7 separate regions of the Homo sapiens genome follow, and regions 1, 2, 3, 4, 6 and 7 are each linked to region 5. Evidence: promoter capture Hi-C in 16 types of primary human blood cells and fetal thymus (Javierre and others, 2016). All regions are on one chromosome and are shown on one strand. The core of a region is centred on a gene start or on the middle of the fragment in contact, and the rest is flanking DNA. Distances in the headings are between cores, read along the strand shown.

Region 1 (3,134 bases), core at 206-2,705, 280 kb before region 5:
AGGTTTTTGGTTTTTTTTTTTTTTTTGGAGACGGAGTCTTGCTCTGTCACTCAGGCTGGAGTACAGTGATATGATCTCAGCTCACTGCAACCCAGGACTCCTGGGTTCAAGCAATTCTCCTGCCTCAGCTTCCAGAGTAGCTGGGATTACAGGTGCACACCACCACACCCAGCTAATTTTTATGTTTTTAGTAGAGACAAGGTTTCACCATGTTGGCCAGGCTCATCTTGAACTCCTGACCTCAAGTGATCCACCCGCCTCAGGCTCCCAAAGTGCTGGGATTACAGGCATGAGCCACCGCACCCGGCCAACTTTTTTTTTTTTTTTAAGGTATGAAGTCTTGCTAAGTTGCCCAGGCTGGACTTCAGCTCCTGCAGTCAAGCAATCCTCTTGTTTCAGCCTCCCAATCAATTCATTTTCTTTTATGTCTATATTTGTGAGCAATATTAGTCTGTAGTACTTTTTTTTCTTTTCTTGTCATGTTTTTCTGGTTTTGGTACCAAGATAATGCTAACCTCAGCTGGGTGCGGTGGCTGATGCCTGTAATCCCAGCACTTTGGGAGGCCAAGGTGGGTGGATCACCTGGGGTCAGGAGTTTGAGAGCAGCCTGACCAACATGGTGAAACCCCATCTCTACTAAAAATACAAAAATTAGCTGCGCGTGGTGGCACGCACCTGTAGTCTCAGCTGCTAGGGAGGCTGAGGTGGGAGAATCACTTGAACCCAGGAGGTGGAGGTTGCAGTGAGCCGAGATCACGCCACTGCACTCTGGCCTGGGCAACAGAGTAAGACTCTGTCTCAGAAAAAATTAAAAAATAAAATAAAAATAATGCTAACCTCATAAAATGATTTGAGAAGTGTTCTTTACTATTCAATTTTTTGAAAGAGTTTTTATAGAACCGTATCTTTTTTTTCTTAAATGTTTGGCAGAACTCACCAATTAAACTATCTGGGGCTGGAGTTTTCTTTGAGGGAAAGGTTTTTTATATTATGAATCCAATTTCTTTAGTAGATTTACGGATATTCAAAGCTTTTTTTTTCTTTAGTGAGCATCGATAGGTTACGTATGTTAAAGAATTTGCCCATTTCATCTAATTTACCAACTTTATTGGCATAAAGGTTTTTCATATTGCTCTCTCATATTATTCCCACTGTAGAGTCTGTAGTCTCTTATTCTTCATATTGTTAGCTTGTCTTCTCTCTTTTCTTCCTGGTAAATATGGCTAGAGTTTTATCAATTGCATTAATCTTTTCAAAACATCAGATTTTAGTTGCATTGATTTTCTTCTATTTTTGTTTGTTTTCTATTGGTCTCTATTCTTATTCTTATTATTTCCTTCCTTCTGCTTATTTTGGGTTTTTTTGTTCTTCCTTTTCTAGTTTTTTCCTCTAAGCACTGATTTGGCAGCATCCTCAAAATTGTGATATGTTTCTATTTTTGCTCGGTTCAAAGTATTTCATAACTTTCCCTGTGATTTCTTTTTTGACTCAGGGTTATATGGAAGTATGTTGCTTAATTTGTAAAATATTTGGGAATTTTCCAAAGATCTCTCAATTATTGATTTATAGTTTAATACCATAGTGGTCAGAGAACATATTTTGTATTATTTTAGACTTCTTAGGGTAATTGATACTTGTTTTATGGCCCAAATTATGGTTTATATGATCATTGTTCCATATGCGTAGGGAATAATATGTGTCCTGTTGTTGGGTGAAGTGTTCTATGACTGTCAATGGAGTCAAGTTGGTTGATAGTATTTTTCAAAACCTCTATACTTTTTATTTTTTGCTACTTCTATCAACTCCTGCAAGAGAAGTGCTGGAATCTCCAACTATAATTTTGGATTTACCTATTCCTCCTTTCAGTTCTGGAAGCTTTTTACTTCATGTATTTTGAAGCAATGTTATTAGGTATATACACATTTAGAATTATGTTCTCCTTATTAATTGACATCTTTAGCATTATGGGATGTTCCTCCCTCTGTATGTTTGTGTGTGTGTGTGTGTGTGTGTGTGTGTGTGTGTGTGTGTCAGGGTATCTATCACCTAGGCTGGGGTGTAGTGGCGTGAACATGGCTCACTGCAGCCTTGACCTCCTGGGCTCAAGTGATCCTCCCATCTCAACCTCTCAAGTAGTTGGGATCCCAGGCATGCGCCACCATGCCTGGCTATTTTTTAAATTTTTTTGTAGAGCTAGGCTCTCACCATGTTGCCCAGGCTGGTCTCAAACTCCTGGGCTCAAGTGATCCTCCCACCTCAGCCTCCCAAATTGTTGGGATTACAGGCGTGAGCCACTGAGCCTGGCTTCCATTTGGTTATTGATTGGCTCTAATTTTTACAAATTTAAAATATTTTATTCAGGAAAATAACTTTTGCTAATTGCTTTTTCTTATTTGTAGACATTAATGTTTTGTTTGGGAGCATAACATTTAGTAATTTTTAAAAAGCAACAAGTAGGCCGGGCACGGTGGCTCACACCTGTAATCCCAGCACTTTGGGAGGCTAAGGTGGGTGGATCACGAGGTCAGGAGATCGAGACCATCCTCGCTAACACAGTGAAACCCCGTCTTTACTAAAAATACAAAAAATAAATTAGCCAGGCGTGGTGGCACGCACCTGTAATCCCAGCTACTCAGGAGGCTGAGCCAGGAGAATCACTTGAACCCAGGAAGTGGAGGTTGCAGTGACCGAGATCACACCACTGCACTCCAGCCTGGGCTACAGAGGGAGACTCCGTCTCAAAAAAAAAAAAAAAAAAAGAAAAGGCAACAAGTCAAGTAAATATATGTTAGGTAATGGACAAAAAGCTAGATAGTGGGGAGTCTCATCTCCTAATTCTTCTAATCAAACTGATGATGTCACTGGGGAAAAGAGGATCAGTTGGAACCTGGTGTTTGGCAGTTACCAGAGGAGCTGTGCCTGGGCAGAGGGTACCCAGGAGACACCCTGGTGCCCTTAACCTCCAAAGCAGGCAACATTGTGTGTCCAGGCCTGTGGACCAGAAACACAGGATGTTTTGTGACTGACAGAGTGATCCAAAATGGAGAAGGATGACCCCCCACAGTTGGTGACTCCCACATCAGTGAAAGCCATCATCCTGAGGATTGAGGCTGCCCAGCTAACTCGGGCTCAAG
Region 2 (3,053 bases), core at 172-2,671, 380 kb before region 5:
GCCTCTTCCATCTCTATCACCTTTCAGTTTTATTTTTATTAACACTGATCACTAACATCTATACATTTTACTCGTCTAGTTTATTGTCTACCTTTCCTTCTACACAGATTGTGAATTCCAAGAGGACACAATGTATATCCTGTTTGTTCGCAGATGTACCTTCAATGCCCAGAATAGTATCTGGCATAGAATAAACTTTCTAAAATAAATATTTGTTGAATAAATGAATTAAAAATCTAGGTGATAACTTCAGGCATGGTTAGATCCAGGTTCTTGGCATGTCATTAGAATTTTGTCCTGTCTCATAGCTTTTCTCTCCTCTGCGCTGGCTTCATTCTCAAGCAGGCTTGATGTGTTACAGGTGATGATAAGACGGCCACCAGCGGCTGCAGGTTTACATTCTAATAATTTTGCAGCCTAAATGGAGAGAGAGTGAGTGCCTCTTTCCTGATTGTTTCAGAGAAAGCCTTGGATATATCATATTGTCTGGGCTTGGGTCAAGTGACAATCCCTAAAACAGTGTCCATGGGTAGAGGAGGAAAATGTTGTGACTGACTGGGCCTGGGTCATGCGGTCCTTTGGAACTGGGGATAAAATTCAGCTCCATTTAGACTGAGAAGAGGGGAGAGGTGGTTTCCTAAAAGAAAAGGGGGTGCTCTCACTGGAAGAAGATGGCGGCTAGACAACAAATTTCCACCGCAAATGTCAACGACCCAGCCGCCGACTGAGCCCAGAACAGCGTTCTTCTCCCGCCTCTCCATTTTCACACGCAGCCAGATGGTTAAGCTTCTCTCCTCCCAAACGTTTTTTCCCCTGCCTCTGTCGGGTAAGGGCTTCCTCATCCCTCAATGCCTGGTCCAACTATGATCTCCCTCACCCCGACTCTTAACAGGTACTATCTCTCTCCCTCTTCTGAGTATCCTGCTTGTTTCTACTTCTCTTGTAGTTAGTTTTGTACGCCATGCCTTGTATAATATTTTACTTACTTGTATACATCATGAGTTCCTTTTGAAAAAGGGTACGGTCCATTCCCGGTGTGTCCACGCCAGCCCCTCACGCCCTCTGGGAACCGCGGTGATTCGATGCCGGCTGAGGCCGCCAGGGAGCGCTCGGCGCCCGGCACGAGGCCGTCAAGGGCGGGAGGCGCTGTGATTGGCAGACGCGGCCGTCAATCGGGCGCAGGTGGGGCGGGCCGGGCCGCCTGTGAGGCCTCTGGGCGGGAGGCGGGGCCTGCATGAATGGGGCGCGCGTCGCGCGGGCTGCAGTCGGCGCTCGCGGGGGAAGCCCGAGTCTCGGCCGGGTGTGGGTGGGAGGAAGCGAGGTTGGCGGGGGAAGGGAAAGAGCGCGGGGGGCGGGGAGGGGCAGCGCCCGGGCGGCGCGCCGAGCGCGGCGAGGCGGCGGGTGTGAGCAAGAGCCGGCCGCCTCCGTCCGCCTTGCTTCGGTGCGGCTGTCCGCTACGCTGCCTCCGCCCTCGCCGCGCGCCCCCGCCAGCGGGACTCCAGGGAACCCCCGGCGCCCTCGACGGGGCCGAGGAGTCGGGACTCGGGGAGCCGGCGCTGAGGGAGGAGCCTGGTCGGAGCCGCGGAGCCGAAAGCTCCGGAGCGTGGAGGTGGGGGGCCGAGGCCCCTGAGGGGGCCCCGCCGCGATGGGCAACCTGGAGAGCGCCGAGGGGGTCCCGGGAGAGCCCCCCTCTGTCCCGTTGTTGCTGCCGCCCGGCAAGATGCCGATGCCTGAGCCCTGTGAGCTGGAGGAAAGGTTCGCCCTGGTGCTGGTGAGAGCTGAGCCCAGCCCCTTCCCCCGCGTACCGCCCCTCAGGTCCCGACGCCCGGGCTGGGACTTTGTGCTGGGCCCCCGTCCCGCCCACCCTTTCAGTCGGGGTCCCGAACGGATCCCGGCCTCCAGTGTCTTCCCAGGAACCTCTGAGCAGCCGCTGGCCGGCCCGGACAGCCCCGTCGGGGATCTCGGGACCGACGCCTCCACCGCTGGACCCTTAGGAGAAGTCCCCAGTTCGGGACCGTCCTAGGAACCAGGCTTCTCCCTCCTTCTTCCTCCCCCTTCTGCTGCCCTTTTCCCGTTTCCCCGCTTCTTCGCCAGGCTCCCCGTCCCTAGCATTCTCAGCCCGGAGCCTCTCGCGGGTGGGGGGAATTCAGAAGCGCGGCCGGCTCGCTCCTCAGCAGGCTTCCCTGAGTGGGGACACCGCCTCTCCTGCGAACATGGAGGCTTCCCAGGGAGTGGGTCCCACTCCCAGCCCAGACCAGATGTTTGGGGGGAGAGGGGGATGGGGAGGCGGCTGGCAGCTCCTGAAGGGGGTGGAATAAAGAGTATGCCATTCTGCTTATTTTCAGAACGGCCTGCAGGCATCCTGCTAAGTTAGAGTGGATTTGCCTGAAAGGCTGAACATGTGGATAAACCATTTCACTGGGGTATTTCTCCAAGTGAAACAATACACAAACCATCCCGCCTCCTCCCCCCCTTTTCACGTTAAGCCATAGTGACTGGTTTGTGTTGTTTAGCCTGTGCTTTTTAGTCTTTCTGTGGGTTTCAAACGGTCTGTATAAATGGGTTTTTAGAGCTGACTTTGGGATTCTTCTTTGGTGTGGGAATTGGACATTGATGTCAGTGGCTCTATGAAGCGAGAGGTTCTGAGCTGGTATCACCGGGAAGGAGCCAGAAAATATGTTTGCGCTGAAAATGAAGTTTTGCAGAGCGAAAACATTGGTAAACCGGGGTTAATCTTTGAGAAATTTGGGGAAATAGTTCTCACTTCCCCAAAGAGTTTTCTAAGAAGCAGTAATAATTCTGGCGTTATTGTTGGTATGGCCGACTCTGCCTTTGCCTCTGCCCATCAGGAGGGATAAGTTGTGGACTTAGCAGCCTTATTGGATTTCATCTGCCTTGGAATAAGGAGATTAGATCTGTTGGCAACAGTGGAGCTGTCTAGAGATCTTGGCCTCTCCGATGGTAGAGAATCTGACATCAGCCCACTGGCACCAGAGCTGGCTCAAAGAGGGTCCACAGTGTTCCAAGGGGAAGTGGTGTCGCTGGCACCTCTC
Region 3 (2,718 bases), core at 55-2,554, 310 kb before region 5:
TTTGCCTGGATATGTTTTCCCCAACAAGAGTGTAATAACATTCCATGAAGACAGGGATCATATCTGACTTGTTGGAAGCTGTATTCCTGGTACCTACCAGCATCTGGCACATAATAGGTATTCAGCAAATATTGAACGAACGAAGAACAAACAGAACAAATCTCTATATAGAACCTTCTACTTCTAAAAATTAATTTTATAGGTATAGCCCTACATGGCCAAAATGCTGTATGTTTAAGGTTTTCATTTCAGTATTATTTGTAAAAACAGAAGATTGGAATCAGCCTAAATAGCCACCAGTAAGGAGCTATGAAATTATATATACACATAAAATGCAGTGCTATACAGTTATAAACAAGAATGAAGAAGCTTATTGTCTCGATATGATCTCTAAGATGTATTAACAAGTGGGAAAGAAAGCAAGGTGCAGCAAACTTTTATCATTTGTATAAAAGTCAGAGACAAAAGATGATACACAAGAAATGGTAGAAAGGGACAGAGATAAAGGGGAGACTTTTCCCTGTATGGCTTTTGTATCTTTTGAATACGCAGCCATATGACTATATTGCCCATTCAAAAACAAACAAACTCACTGTAAGTGAACCGAGGCTTGGAGATGCAGCTAAAGGGCCCAGCCCTTCTGCCTCTTTGCCTGAAAGTTAGGGGGTGATAGGGAGGAATCCCGGGGAAAGGTGGTATCTGGCTGAAGAGAAGGTACCTCACTGCTGCCAATTTCCCCTATGTTGAGAATGCTCAGCATTTAAAAACGCCCTTCATGTCTGCCTTTAAAATATCTGTTCCTGGCTGGGCACGGTGGCTCACACCTGTAATCCCAGCACTTTGGGAGGCCAAGGAGGGCAGATCATGAGGTCAGGAGATCGAGGCCATCCTGGCCAACACGGTGAAATCCTGTCTCTACTAAAAATACAAAAACAAAATTAGCCAGGCGTGGTGGCAGGCACCTTTAGTCCCAGCTACTCGGGAGAGGTGGGAGAATGAGGTGAACCCAGGAGGCGGAGTTTGCAGTGAGCCGAGGCGCCACTGCACTCCAACTCCAGCCTGGGCGACAGAGCGAGATTTCGTCTCCAAAAAAAAAAAAAAAAAACTGTTCCTGGCCTGGTGCGGTGGTTCACGCCTGTAATCCCAGCACTTTGGGAGGCCAAGCGGGCAGATCACCTGAGGTAAGGAGTTCGAGACCAGCTTGGCCAACATGGTGAAACCTCTACTAAAAATACAAAAATTAGCCAGGTGTGGTGGCACACGCCTGTAGTCTCAGCTACTGGGGAGGCTGAGGCACGAGAACTGCTTGAACCTGGGAGGCGGAGGTTGCATTGAGCTGAGACTGCACCACTGCACTCCAGCCTGGGTGACAGAGTGAGACACTCTCAAAAAGACAAAACAACAACAACAACAACAAACTGTCCTTCATCTTGTCCTAAGAAGAAAAGGGTATGAGCTAAACCTCTCCAATGTGACTCATCTTTTCTAAGTGCTCAACTGCTTTAGTTCTGTATTCAGACTTGCTCTTGCCCCTGACGCTTTCCTCAGCATGGGAAGTCAGAAACTAATCAATAGTGGAGGAAATACAATTTTCTGTGTCACACTTTCCCATCTCAAGCTGCCTCAGGAGCCTCTCTAACATCTTTGGGTCCTACCAGGCTCCAGGGGAGCCTCAGAAGCGTCTCAGAGACTGGCACCACACCATTCAATTGTCCAAATGGAAACCTATGAGTCACTCTCCACAACTCCCTCTTCCTTGCCAATAAATCACCAAGTCTTGTTAACTTTACCTCCTCAAGATTTCTTGAATCTATCCATTTCTCTCCATTTCCTTTTCCACCACCCATCTTGCCCAAGCCACCATCTTTTTTCATCTAATTGCAGTGGCCTCCCAACTGTTTTCCCCACATCCACTCCAATCAGCAGCTATAACAAGCTCTTCAAAGTGCACCTCAGACTGTTAGCCCCCTGCTTAAAACTCTTCAATGGCTTCCCACTGCTCTTAGGGTAAATAGTAAACCCCCTACCCAGTACTATGAGGGGGTCTGCTACCCAGCTACCTTGCCAATCTCCCCCATGCTGAGCTCCTGGGTCTCAGTTCCAGCCCTACTCACCTTCTCTCAGCTCTCCCACCTCAGGCATCCACCTTTGCCTGAGAAAACTGGGTTGGCCCTGCCAACCCCACACACCTTGCCTACTACACTTCACATCTACCAATCATTTCTTCACGAAAGCTTTTCCCAACTCCCTGAACTAGTCAGAGCCCGCTTTTATATACTTGTACAACACCATGTACCTTCTCCTTCGGCAATTATCCATTAGAATTTTATAGTTATTTGTATAATCCTGATTATATTATTTTTCTATTTGGCATGAATAAAAAACAAATGCTGCCAATTAAATTATAATATCCTGTCAATTTGAAGATGCATCCTGACTTGACAAATGTTCAAATATGAGTCTCAGAATTAATGAAATATAATATCCGTGGCCCCTACTAGACTGAAAACACTGAAGGGCAGGGACTTCATCTGTTTTTGCTCACCTCATATCCAGTTCCCATTGTGTTTTCCTTACCACCATCTATGGGTACAAACTAGGTGCTAATAAGTATGTGTTAACTGAATGACTAAATGGTCTTGGCAAGTCCTACAAAACAGTAGGGGGCCACTGGTAAGTTAGGTCTAGTAGTTATTCAGGGAACATAGAATGTCAGAA
Region 4 (2,707 bases), core at 25-2,524, 420 kb before region 5:
CTGTTGCCCAGGCTGGAGTGCAGTGGCACGATCTCAGCTCACTGCAACCTCTGCCTCCTGGGTTCAAGTGATTATCATGCCTCAGCCTCCCAAGTAGCTGGGATTACAGGTGTGTGCCACCATGCCCAGCTAATTTTTGTATTTTAAGTAGATACAGGGTTTTGCCATGTTGGCCAGGCTGGTCTCAAACTCCTGACCTCAAGTGATCTGCCCACCTCGGCCTCCCAAAGTGCTGGGATTACAGGCATGAGCCACCATGCCTGGCCTGAAGTACAGTTTCTAGCAAACAGGTAGCACTTTTGCATCATTATAAAGTAAAAAATCATTAAGTCCAATCATCATAAATTGGGGCCCGTCTGTACTTTTGTTTAAATGGCATACCTTTCTTCTAGCACATTTATACTATCTCTCTTGTCCCACAGGGCCATGGACATTTTGAGACAGCCTAATAGCCACTAAGTGATAATCTGATATGGTAAAGGATTTGATGAAGTAAATGCGCAAAAGCTTGATGCTTTCCCTGCCACTCCCAGGAGGTAGGTCAGTTCAGTTTCGGAACCATCCAAGGAATTGTTTCATTCAACTAGGACCAAGCTTTGATCTTCCCAGGTGGACACCCTAGATGTCCCCGCCTCTCCCTTAACTTGGACCCAAATCCCTGGATTAGCTAATACTGAATCCATCTCCTCCAGGGGGCTGCCTCAAAACCAAACCAGTAACTGGAGATGAAATGCCTACTGCCTTCAGTAAATTATTTTTTGTACCAAACGTTGACACTACTTCATCTCCCTCTCTATAACGTTTGACAGATACTGAATCCTAAGAAGGCCCCAAAATCCTAAATACATAATCTTCTTCCAGTATAAACCAGTAATCCCTCCCTAATAACACCATATTTAGCCCAAATGGGGAGCACACATAAATTAAGACAAACAGCATACCCACTTCACCCTCACTGGTGAAGCTCCTTTTTCACGTGTTTTGGATTCCAGTTAATTGTGCAGAAACTTCTCACCCTGAGGGCAGAGCTTGCATCTGGTTCAGCTCAGCTATCCCCAAGATTTAAGCACTACAAAGTCTCTAGAGCAAATTTAGACCCTATTATCAGATCAAGAGTGCTGTAACCTCAAATCAACATTCCCCAGCTGGCTCAGAGTGGAACCTACCTCAAGGGGTCACTTAGGTAACCTTTAAGTCAAGGAGACAGCCTTTCTCTCCTTGGTCTCGAACACCATCTTTGGAAAACAAAATGTGTATAAAAACTACGAAGGGCTGCATGCAGTTTGGTTAGAAACTCTGGGGGAACAAAACAGAGTGGTAGAAGACATTTCTACCAGATTCTACAACCAGGTCAAAGTAGTAAAGGAAAAAAAATCAGAAGTTAGAGCATCAGAATATTCAATGGTTTCTCTAGAGAAAATTAATACCCTTGGGCAGTTTACGAAATAAAATGAAACTCGTCAGGCCAGCAGTAGTACCTTCTATACTAATACTCCTGACTATATTTATATAAAATTTATAACTTTTAAGGTGCTTTTATATATGTATCACCTTCAATCCTCACACATCAACCCACAAGGAAAGGGAAAGATTAGGCCCATTTTATACATCTTTTTTAAGTTCAAAAAGGCAATGTAATAGTGGCAAGAGGACAGGATTTGGTGTCACAAGTGCTGCCACTTTCTACTATATAACCTAGGAAAAATCATTTTACCTAAGGTTATTTCAGCTTCCTCATCTGTAAGATAACGATGATGATCAATACCTGCTCTACTGAATGCCAATAAGAAAATCTGTGTGAAATCAACGTAAAGTACTAAAACAAACATTAGTATTGATTTGACCAACATTAGAAAGTTAAATAGCAGAGCCAGAACCAGATTTGGGGTCTTCTGACCACTATAGTCTAGTGCTCTTTTTACTATTCCATCCTACAGTAGAAAAATAAGCTTTCATTTATATAAGCTTTCAAAAGTTTCAGCCATAGGTGAAAACAAATCTTTAAAACAAAAAAACCCTCCCAAAACATACATTGATTCCTATGACATTTTTCTGCATTTTCAGCATTTGTATAAAGAGCGCGAACTATATCTATAATCAGGGAAAATAACTTGAAAATGCTAAGTATCTAGATTAATTTTACCTTTTCTTATTCTTCAGGAGAGATGACTCTTTTTCTTTAGGAAAGGATTACACCTGTAATCCTAGCAATTTGGGAGGTCAAGGCGGGCGAATCGCTTGAGGTGTGGAGTTCGAGACCAGGCTGGACAACTTGGCAAAAGCCCGTCTCTACTAAAAATACAAAAATTAGCTGGGCATGGTGGTGCGCGCCTGTCATCTCAGCTGCTTAGGAGGCTGAGGCATGAGAATTGAATGCACCAGGGAGGCGGAGGTTGCAGTGAGCCGAGATTGCACCACTGCACTCCAGCTTGGGTAAGGGAGTGAGACTGTCTCAAAAAAAAAACATAATAATAATAATAAATAAATAAATCGCTTGAGTTCTGGAGTTGGTAAGCCTGGGCAACATGGTGATACCCCATCTCCACAAAAAATACAAAAATTAGCTGGAGCTGGTGACGTCCACCTGTGGTCCTAGCTACTCAGGAGGCTGGGGTGGATCACCTAAGCCAGGAGAGGTCAAGGTTCAAGTGAGCCATGACTGCGCCACTGCACTCTAGCCTGGGCGACAGTGAGACTCTGCCTCAAA
Region 5 (2,890 bases), core at 1-2,500:
AAACTATAGACAGGTAACAGACTCAAGCCAAGGTATATACATGTTATAAAAGAAGTGCTGCAAAGTATTAGGAGAACACAGAGCAACTGATTGTGACATGGGGAACTGGAAAAGGCTTCAGAAGAAGTGATATTTATTATTTATTTATTTATTTATTTTTTAAAGAGATGGGATCTCCCTCTGTCATCCAGGCTGGTCTCCAACTCCTGGCCTCCAGTGATCCTCCTGCTTCAGCCTCCTGAGTAGCTGTGATTACAGGTACAAGCCATGGCACCTGGCGAGATGACATTTTGCTGGAGGAAAGGGAGATCTTCTAAGAGCAAAGAGCTTTCCAGGAGCTGGGACCAGGACTATCACAGTAAGTAGGAGACAGCAGGAGTGAGTGCAAAACCCCAAAACCCCACTTTTACCCTTCCTAGTCCCCTACTCAGCCATGGAGGCCGTGTTACCATGGCTCCAACAGGTACCTGTCTGGGCAGGGGGCCCAGGCCCCACATTTTGACCCCTAGGGCTAGGCCTGAGCTCTTCCAAGGGGTTCCGAGGCTGACTGATCCCCACCAATCTTTGTGATGTCTCTGCCTGGTGCCTGGCTTTCGGCCTGGGGCCTGCTGAATCAACGAGGGGGCGTTGAATATTGAGCGGTGGTTTCTGCACCCATCTCTAGGGGAGGGAGCGGGGACAAAAAGGTGAGGTTTAGTGTTGGGGTGCATTACTGGTGTGACTACTGTCTTCCCCCATTAGGCCCCTCTTACCCTTGGATCTTGGTTCTCCTGGTCCACGGCGCACGATGTAACAGTGGGGAAAGGCGTGCGTTTCTGAGAGCGTACCGGAATCTTGCTAGGGGTAGGAGATACACCCCGGAGGAGGGGATCCTTCGTGGCTTGCCGGGTGGTCATGATGGCTACAATTGAGACGGGGAAGAAGGCAGGCAGAATCTAAGATCAAAGATCAACCAGTTCTCGGGGCACCTGTCCTGCCATCCCTGATACCTCCGCCCTAATCCACGCGCCCACAAGCCCCCGGCGCCTGCAAGACCGCTCTTATGGGTGCTATCTCCAGACACCCCGAGCCTACTCTTTCGCCCTCGGGCCCCAAACTGCCCTCCTCCCTATGAACCCAGCAGCCTTCGTTCCCTTCAAGACCCCCGTGCCTTACCTTACCGAGGCCCCTCAGGGCCTACCCAGCTTCCTCCGCTTTTCTCCTGACCCTCTCGGGTGCTGCTGGAGCTACTTTCTCAGTTTGTAAAATACGCCAAGCTCTTGATTGGCCCGGTCGCGCTCCCGCGGAGGCCCGCGTAGCCAGACTCAGCCGTCCAATCCGCGGGCATCGCAGGAGGGGCCAAAAGAAGGACCAATTGTCGAACCGCTTTCTGGCGAGGAAAAAAACTGACTCGGATCAATCAGCCAATCCGAGAGTGGAGCGCCGCTGGGAGGCGGGGAAAGAGGAAGGATGGGGCCGTTCCGAGGCCGGGGAAGGCGTAGCCACGGGAGCTCTCGCGAGGCCTCAGGACCGGCTAGGGGCCGGCCATTGGCAGGACCGGGCGAGGTCGCGGTACTGAGGGTACAGTTGATCGTTCCGATTGCTGCCAACGGTGTTGAAGGCTGGCCCGAGCCCCCGACCCGGCTTGACCATAGCACGGCGCCAAGCTTTGGGGACGCCATTCCAGATGCCCATAGAAAATATCTGCGTCCGGGCGCGGTGGCAGGCGCCTGTAATCCCAACACTTTGGGACGCCGAGGCGGGAGGATCTCTTGAGCTGAGTTTGAGACCAGCCTGGGCAACATAGCGAGACCACTCCCACCCGTTTCTCTACAAAATAATAAAATAATAATAATAATCCCTGTGCAGTGGTGCGCGCTTGTAGTCCCAGCCGCTCTGGAGGCTGAGGCAGGAGGATCGTGTTGAGCCCAGGAGGTTGAGGCTGTAGTGAGCTGTGGTCGCGCCACTGCACTCCAGCCTGGGCAACAGAGACCCTGTCTTAAAAAAAATAAAGAGGGAAAGAGAGAACATCTGTACGTTGTCTCCGGGATAAGGAACTGCCTTCAAACGGGCGGAGAGGGCTGGAGGGAATCGAACTGAGCCTAACAATATGTGTGCTCCTTGGAGCCTCACAATCCAGTGAGGTGTCTGATGAGGTGTCTTTCATTTTACGGGTAGGTAACAAGACTCATTGTTTTTGAACTCAGTTACCACAGCACCAGAATTGAATGGCTACTCACAGCTGGGGATTTCCTTGCCTCCAGGTTGCCTTTTGCAGATCTAGAGGTCTGGGGAGAGGGGGCTCACCTGCTGGTTATTGGTGGGCAAGGCTGTGAGACTGAGAGATCCTAGAATATCCTGCTTAAGATGGAAGGGGTAACCCCTAACGGGGGACAGGAAATGAACAACACTTAACAGAACTCTGGTGGATTTTCCCCACCAATCACAGAAGTTATTCTTACACAAGCCAGAAACCGAGGAGTTACTCCTTAACTCCTCCCACTCCCTTTACATATCCCATCTCTCATTCACTCTCACTAGTTTTACTATTTATGCATTTTTGGGACAGGGTCTCACTCTGTCGCCCAGGCTGGAGTGCAGTGGTGCGATCTCAGCTCACCGCAGCCTCGGCCTCCTGAGGTGGGAACCTCAGCCTCTCAAGTAGCTGGGACTACAGGTGCCTGCCACCAGCTAATTTTTGTGTTTTTTTGTAGAGACAAGATCTGGCTACGTTGTCTAGCCTGGGGTTACAGGCGTCTTTCCCAGCACTTTGGATGGCCCAGGTGGATCGCTTGAGGCCAGGAGTTCCAGACCAGCCTAGACAGTGTAGCAAGATCCTGTTTCTATAAAAAAAAATTTAAAGATACGTAAGGTATCTTTACTAATTGTATGCATCTTTAAAATTCATCTA
Region 6 (2,873 bases), core at 194-2,693, 300 kb after region 5:
CTAATGATACAGGGCACCCTCCTACAGGAGAGCCCCGCCCCAGAGCCACCCACTCAGCACAGCTATACCTACAATGTCTCCAATCTGGATGTGCGACAGCTCTCGGCCCCACCTCCTGAAGAACCCTCCCCGCCCCCTTCCCCCTTGGCACCTTCTCCTGCCAGTCCCCCTACTGAGCCCTTGGTTGAACTTCCCACCGAACCCTTGGCTGAGCCACCCGTCCCCTCACCTCTGCCACTGGCCTCATCCCCTGAATCAGCCCGACCCAAGCCCCGTGCCCGGCCCCCTGAAGAAGGTGAAGATTCCCGTCCTCCTCGCCTCAAGAAATGGAAAGGAGTGCGCTGGAAGCGGCTTCGGCTGCTGCTGACCATCCAGAAGGGCAGTGGGCGGCAGGAGGATGAGCGGGAAGTGGCAGAGTTTATGGAGCAGCTTGGCACAGCCTTGCGACCTGACAAGGTACCGCGAGACATGCGTCGCTGCTGTTTCTGTCATGAGGAGGGTGACGGGGCCACTGATGGGCCTGCCCGTCTGCTGAACCTGGACCTGGACCTGTGGGTGCACCTCAACTGTGCCCTTTGGTCCACGGAGGTGTATGAGACCCAGGGCGGGGCACTGATGAATGTGGAGGTTGCCCTGCACCGAGGACTGCTAACCAAGTGCTCCCTGTGCCAGCGAACTGGTGCCACCAGCAGCTGCAATCGCATGCGTTGCCCCAATGTCTACCATTTTGCTTGTGCCATCCGTGCCAAGTGCATGTTCTTCAAGGACAAGACCATGCTGTGTCCAATGCATAAGATCAAGGGGCCCTGTGAGCAAGAGCTGAGCTCTTTTGCTGTCTTCCGGCGGGTCTACATTGAGCGGGACGAGGTGAAGCAAATCGCTAGCATCATTCAGCGGGGAGAACGGCTGCACATGTTCCGTGTGGGGGGCCTTGTGTTCCACGCCATCGGACAGCTGCTGCCTCACCAGATGGCTGACTTTCATAGTGCCACTGCCCTCTATCCCGTGGGCTACGAGGCCACGCGCATCTATTGGAGCCTCCGCACCAACAATCGTCGCTGCTGCTATCGCTGTTCTATTGGTGAGAACAACGGGCGGCCGGAGTTTGTAATCAAAGTCATCGAGCAGGGCCTGGAGGACCTGGTCTTCACTGACGCCTCTCCCCAGGGTGAGCAGTGGGCCCTTGAAATGGATAATATGGAATGGGAAAAGTTTCTCCCAGGGTCACTGTTACAATGTCTATAAGAGGACCTGTAGCTTCTATGTGAATGATCCTCCTTCCCCCACCTCAGGCAGGCAGGGGGTCTCTTGAAAACTCCCAGTGAAAGTGTTTGAGCCTCTCTTGTCACCCTAAATTCCCTTGTAGTTGAAAATATTTTGCTGGTCTAATCTCACATATTCTAGTTCTGTTGCTATCCCCAGTGGAACAAAAGGAAACAGTTCTGAGACTATCATCTGCCTCACCCAACCTAATCCTAACCAAGTTCCTTGGGGTTGTTTTTCCCTGGACGAAATCAGAATTATTTTGATTTTAGTTTTAGTGTTAATGATAAAATAACAGTAAGAGCAGGTACCTTTTTTTGAGTGTGTACTGTGAGCCACAAACTAAGCTAAGTGATTTGTGTAGTTTATTTTGTTCATACAACCCTATGAGGTAAGTATTATACTACGATTATGCCCAGTTTGTTCATAAAGAAACTGAGTCTCAGATTTCAGTACAGTCGTGCATTGCTAAATGACAGGGATACATTCTGAGAAATGCATTGTTAGGTGATTTTGTCATTGTGTGAACTTCATAGAGTGTACTACACAAACCTAGATGGCATAGCATACTACACACCTAGGCTCTGCGGTATACCCCATTGCTCCTAGGCTACAAATCTGTACAGCATGTAACTGTACTGAATACTGTAGGCAGTTGTAACATACGGTAAGTATGTGCATCTAGACATAGAAAAGATACAGTAAAAATACAGTACAGTATTATAATCTTACCAGACCACTGTTGTATATATGATTCCTCATTGAATGAAATGTTGTTAAGCTGCACGTGACTGTATTTGGCTCAAGGTCTCATGACCAGTACTAGAACCTGAACCCAAGTCTTTCCAACTCCAAAGCATGCCTGCTCTTTCACTAGGGACCTTCCATGGCCTATGCTGGGTCTCCTGGGCCCTGGGTTTGTATCTCAAGGCTCTGTGATGACCCCTTGGGGTTGGAAACCTCCTGCTTCTTAAGAGAGAGTGAGACTAGGAGGCCAAGAGAGGATCTGGAAGACCAACACAACTTCATGATAGGGAGGCTTGAAGGCCTCAGAAAACTGCAGTTCTGGATTGGGGTTAGGGACTGGAGGTCAGTGAGCAGAAGTTGCCTCTGAGGACTGCTCTCTTCCCTGCTTCTTAGCCGTGTGGAATCGCATCATTGAGCCTGTGGCTGCCATGAGAAAAGAGGCTGACATGCTGCGACTCTTCCCTGAGTATCTGAAGGGCGAGGAGCTCTTTGGGCTGACGGTGCATGCCGTGCTTCGCATAGCTGAATCAGTAAGGAAGGGGCTGGGAGCTGGGGGGCTTGGCGGGCACTGAGAACTTTGGCCTAACCCCAAAAAAACTCAGGCTAAGGTGAGTATGAACTGTGCCCACAGCTGCCCGGGGTGGAGAGCTGTCAAAACTATTTATTCCGCTATGGGCGCCACCCCCTTATGGAGCTGCCACTCATGATCAACCCCACTGGCTGTGCCCGATCAGAGCCTAAAATCCTCACACACTACAAACGGTGAGCTTGTGATGCTGGAGCCAAGGGATGTGGGTGTGGGTGTTGACAGGGATCCTCTGGTCCCATTATGAGGATTTAGGATACAGATCAGAGTTCCCGTG
Region 7 (3,028 bases), core at 67-2,566, 320 kb after region 5:
CTTACCTATTCCTCTCCAGAGAGGCAAATTATCCCTTCTTCCCGAGGAACCATGCCCCACACACTCTCCCCTCTCTCTGCACTGCTCCCCTCCACTGAAGCTGCTGCCATGGTTGCCAGGCATGGTTGCTAAGTCTCTGCATGGAAGGGTTGGCGTGGGCTGTGCTGCCACTAACATTACCATGGTGAATCAGGGGACACCTGGTATAAGCTTAGGAGGAGGGATCATGTGGATATAAGCAACAGCCCCCCAGGACAGAGGCAGCCCAAAAGGTGAGCATCTGGAGCACCACTTAAGGTGGGGACTGAGTGAACTAGGCATTGTGGTGGTGGTGAGGGGGAGTTCTACATTGAAAAAAATAAAGGCCACTTTTATCATTTCAGTTGCTAGGGGATTAGTTTTGCCAAGCAAACACATCATTTCTCCTCCATCCCCCTCTGGAAGGGTGAGAGTGCATAAGCACTTACTCTGTCCTCCATAAAGCTGGGCAGGCTGTGTGGGCACAGAACAATATAACCCCCAAATCCTGGCTTCTGGATTGGAGGTGAAAGCCTGCTGCTGTGGGAGGGCTCCCTGGCTGCCCAAGGACAAACATGTAGAATGGAACTGGTAGGGCAGCTTGGGTGGCCAAGGCAGACGCCTGTGTCCTGCTGTACCAGCAGTCCTAGGCTGCAGCACTGAGCTGACAAGGAGATACGGGTGTAGGGGTCACCCTTTTTGAGCTTAGGGAAGGCAGCTCTCCCTCAGAGTCGCACAAAAGCTTGGTAAAAGCCACCGCCTCCTCTCTCCACCGCATGGGAGCTGGTTACTCATCTCATCTCTGCACCCGAACAGCCACTGCCGCTAAAAATAGCCCCCCAGCCGTGGGCCAGCCCCTCCTGCACCCCAGCCCCATGGAAACCAGCAGAGTGGCAGGCAGAGACCTTGAGTTCCAATCTCATCACTCTATGTTGGGGAAACTGAAATCTGAGGCAGGAAGCCAGGGGCAGAACCCTGGTGGTCAGGCAACCTGACAAGCAGGAGAGTAAAGGGTTAAAACGGCAGGAAGGTTGAAGAAATAGGGGCGGGGGAGGGGGCACTGTCAGCTTGGCAAGAATCATAAGTCCCTCCCCCGCCCACTCGTGCGATCCCATCAGGCTTGGGGGACAACAGCAGTGGGAAGGGGCGTCCAATCCCGGGCCCCAGGGGGCGGCCGTGCACATGGGGGAGGTAGCAGCGCGGAGCAGTCCGCGCGGTGTCACATGCGCGCGCACACACAGAGACAGGCACACACACGTGTGCCCGGGTATATATAGTTCCCAGTCCCCGGGCCCGCGGCTCTGCAGTGGGCGCCGGCTCCCTGGGCTGGGAGGGGGCTCCTGGGGCGGGTGGGAGGGTGGGGGGCCGGGGTGGGGTGGGGCAGGATGCTGGATGGCCCACTGTTCTCCGAGGGGCCTGACAGCCCCCGGGAGCTCCAGGATGAGGAGTCTGGCAGCTGCCTCTGGGTGCAGAAGTCCAAGCTATTGGTGATAGAAGTGAAGACTATTTCCTGTCATTATAGTCGCCGCGCCCCTTCTCGACAGCCCATGGACTTCCAGGCCAGCCACTGGGCTCGCGGGTTCCAGAACCGCACGTGAGTGAAGCAGGGGTGAGGGGAAGAGAGTGGTGGGGCGGGGAGTGGGGTCCGGACCTCCCCGCAGGCACCAGCGAGCACTGCTGGTCCCCCTTCTCTTTCCCACGCCTTCCACCTCTGCCCGCTCCCGAGGGCTGGGGCCTGACTCATCCCGTTGTTTGGGGGAACAGAAGTGGGTGTGAGAAAGGGCAGGAGGTGAGATGGGGCAGACGCTGTTAAAGTGTGCATGGAGAGATGGCGAGGAGTCCCGCTTCGACTTCAGTCCTAACATATACGCACGTGCACACGCGCACACACTCACACACACCCCTTCACATGGCTGCCCCAAGTGGTCTCCAGTGCTCCCAGCTCCCCGGACCTCGGCTCCCTTCCCCCACAAACTGCTCACCTGGGTTCCTGCTCATTGTCCCAGGTGTGGGCCGCGCCCGGGATCCCCACAGCCGCCGCCCCGCCGGCCCTGGGCCTCCAGGGTGCTGCAGGAGGCGACCAACTGGCGGGCGGGGCCCCTGGCCGAGGTCCGAGCTCGGGAGCAAGAGAAAAGGAAAGCGGCGTCGCAGGAGCGGGAGGCCAAGGAGACCGAGCGAAAAAGGCGCAAGGCTGGTGGGGCCCGACGGAGCCCCCCGGGTCGACCCCGCCCGGAGCCCCGCAACGCCCCTCGGGTGGCCCAGCTGGCAGGGCTCCCTGCTCCCTTGCGGCCGGAGCGCCTGGCGCCTGTGGGGCGAGCGCCCCGTCCATCCGCGCAGCCGCAGAGCGACCCAGGGTCGGCGTGGGCGGGGCCCTGGGGAGGTCGGCGGCCCGGGCCCCCAAGCTACGAGGCTCACCTGCTGCTGAGAGGTTCTGCCGGGACCGCCCCACGACGCCGCTGGGACCGGCCGCCACCCTACGTGGCTCCACCTTCTTACGAAGGCCCCCATAGGACCTTGGGGACTAAGAGAGGCCCCGGGAACTCTCAGGTGCCCACTTCATCAGCCCCAGCTGCGACTCCAGCCAGGACAGACGGAGGGCGCACAAAGAAGAGGCTGGATCCTCGGATCTACCGGGACGTCCTCGGGGCTTGGGGTCTCCGACAGGGGCAAGGTCTCTTGGGGGGATCCCCAGGCTGTGGAGCGGCCAGAGCAAGGCCAGAGCCCGGCAAGGGGGTCGTGGAGAAAAGCCTGGGGCTGGCTGCTGCTGACCTGAACAGTGGTAGCGACAGCCATCCCCAAGCCAAAGCTACAGGGAGCGCAGGCACCGAGATAGCTCCTGCGGGGTCTGCAACTGCGGCTCCCTGTGCCCCGCATCCCGCTCCCAGATCCAGGCACCACCTCAAGGGCTCGAGGGAAGGGAAAGAAGGAGAACAGATCTGGTTTCCCAAATGCTGGATTCCCTCCCCTAAAAAGCAGCCGCCCCGCCATAGCCAGACACTCCCCAGACCCT

What was found. The method cuts DNA at HindIII sites, captures the fragments that hold promoters and counts their contacts. A CHiCAGO score of 5 or more calls a contact.
Region 1: a contact is called between a fragment that was not itself captured here and the fragment with the promoter of TROAP in region 5, in 2 of 17 cell types (endothelial precursors and M0 macrophages). The highest score is 11.1, in endothelial precursors.
Region 2: the fragment with the promoter of FMNL3 here is called in contact with the fragment with the promoter of TROAP in region 5 in 1 of 17 cell types (endothelial precursors); the score reaches 8.7 in endothelial precursors.
Region 3: a fragment that was not itself captured here is called in contact with the fragment with the promoter of TROAP in region 5 in 2 of 17 cell types (endothelial precursors and M0 macrophages); the score reaches 9.3 in endothelial precursors.
Region 4: a fragment that was not itself captured here is called in contact with the fragment with the promoter of TROAP in region 5 in 2 of 17 cell types (endothelial precursors and erythroblasts); the score reaches 6.4 in endothelial precursors.
Region 6: a contact is called between a fragment that was not itself captured here and the fragment with the promoter of TROAP in region 5, in 1 of 17 cell types (neutrophils). The highest score is 7.2, in neutrophils.
Region 7: the fragment with the promoter of DDN here is called in contact with the fragment with the promoter of TROAP in region 5 in 1 of 17 cell types (neutrophils); the score reaches 5.1 in neutrophils.

The regions. Positions count from the first base shown.
Region 1 is chr12:49,605,384-49,608,517 of GRCh38, reverse strand. FAM186B (family with sequence similarity 186 member B) reads left to right here and starts at 2,879. Exons shown (of 7, transcript NM_032130.3): 1 at 2,879-3,134. The coding sequence starts at 3,041. The HindIII fragment of the contact is 845 bases long and covers 1,033-1,877 here.
Region 2 is chr12:49,705,773-49,708,825 of GRCh38, reverse strand. It overlaps FMNL3 (formin like 3), which reads left to right and starts at 1,421. Exons shown (of 26, transcript NM_175736.5): 1 at 1,421-1,771. The coding sequence starts at 1,646. It overlaps LOC124902929 (a long non-coding RNA gene), which reads right to left and starts at 1,100. Exons shown (of 3, transcript XR_007063299.1): 1 at 987-1,100. RefSeq lists an enhancer at 838-987 and a silencer at 1,008-1,777. The HindIII fragment of the contact is 3,771 bases long and covers 789-3,053 here.
Region 3 is chr12:49,626,950-49,629,667 of GRCh38, reverse strand. All of the region lies in intron 1 of PRPF40B (pre-mRNA processing factor 40B), which reads right to left. Among named protein-coding and RNA genes, the nearest start is that of PRPF40B, 4.7 kb to the right of the region's middle. The HindIII fragment of the contact is 1,865 bases long and covers 372-2,236 here.
Region 4 is chr12:49,743,002-49,745,708 of GRCh38, reverse strand. All of the region lies in intron 1 of TMBIM6 (transmembrane BAX inhibitor motif containing 6), which reads right to left. Among named protein-coding and RNA genes, the nearest start is that of TMBIM6, 2.8 kb to the right of the region's middle. The HindIII fragment of the contact is 1,355 bases long and covers 597-1,951 here.
Region 5 is chr12:49,321,615-49,324,504 of GRCh38, reverse strand. It overlaps TROAP (trophinin associated protein), which reads right to left and starts at 1,250. Exons shown (of 15, transcript NM_005480.4): 1 at 1,156-1,250; 2 at 753-901; 3 at 468-660. The coding sequence starts at 896. It overlaps TROAP-AS1 (TROAP and PRPH antisense RNA 1), which reads left to right. Exons shown (of 8, transcript NR_120449.1): 1 at 1-13; 2 at 166-358. RefSeq lists enhancers at 1,027-1,176, 2,318-2,537. The HindIII fragment of the contact is 3,639 bases long and covers 1-1,648 here.
Region 6 is chr12:49,024,477-49,027,349 of GRCh38, reverse strand. KMT2D (lysine methyltransferase 2D) reads left to right here. Exons shown (of 55, transcript NM_003482.4): 49 at 28-1,168; 50 at 2,404-2,540; 51 at 2,642-2,772. Among named protein-coding and RNA genes, the nearest start is that of PRKAG1, 7.1 kb to the right of the region's middle. The HindIII fragment of the contact is 8,267 bases long and covers 1-2,873 here.
Region 7 is chr12:48,997,663-49,000,690 of GRCh38, reverse strand. DDN (dendrin) reads left to right here and starts at 1,316. Exons shown (of 2, transcript NM_015086.2): 1 at 1,316-1,612; 2 at 2,025-3,028. The coding sequence starts at 1,404. It overlaps DDN-AS1 (DDN and PRKAG1 antisense RNA 1), which reads right to left and starts at 2,344. Exons shown (of 2, transcript NR_147179.1): 1 at 2,001-2,344. RefSeq lists enhancers at 651-945, 2,615-2,684 and silencers at 1,091-1,385, 2,035-2,494. The HindIII fragment of the contact is 4,772 bases long and covers 763-3,028 here.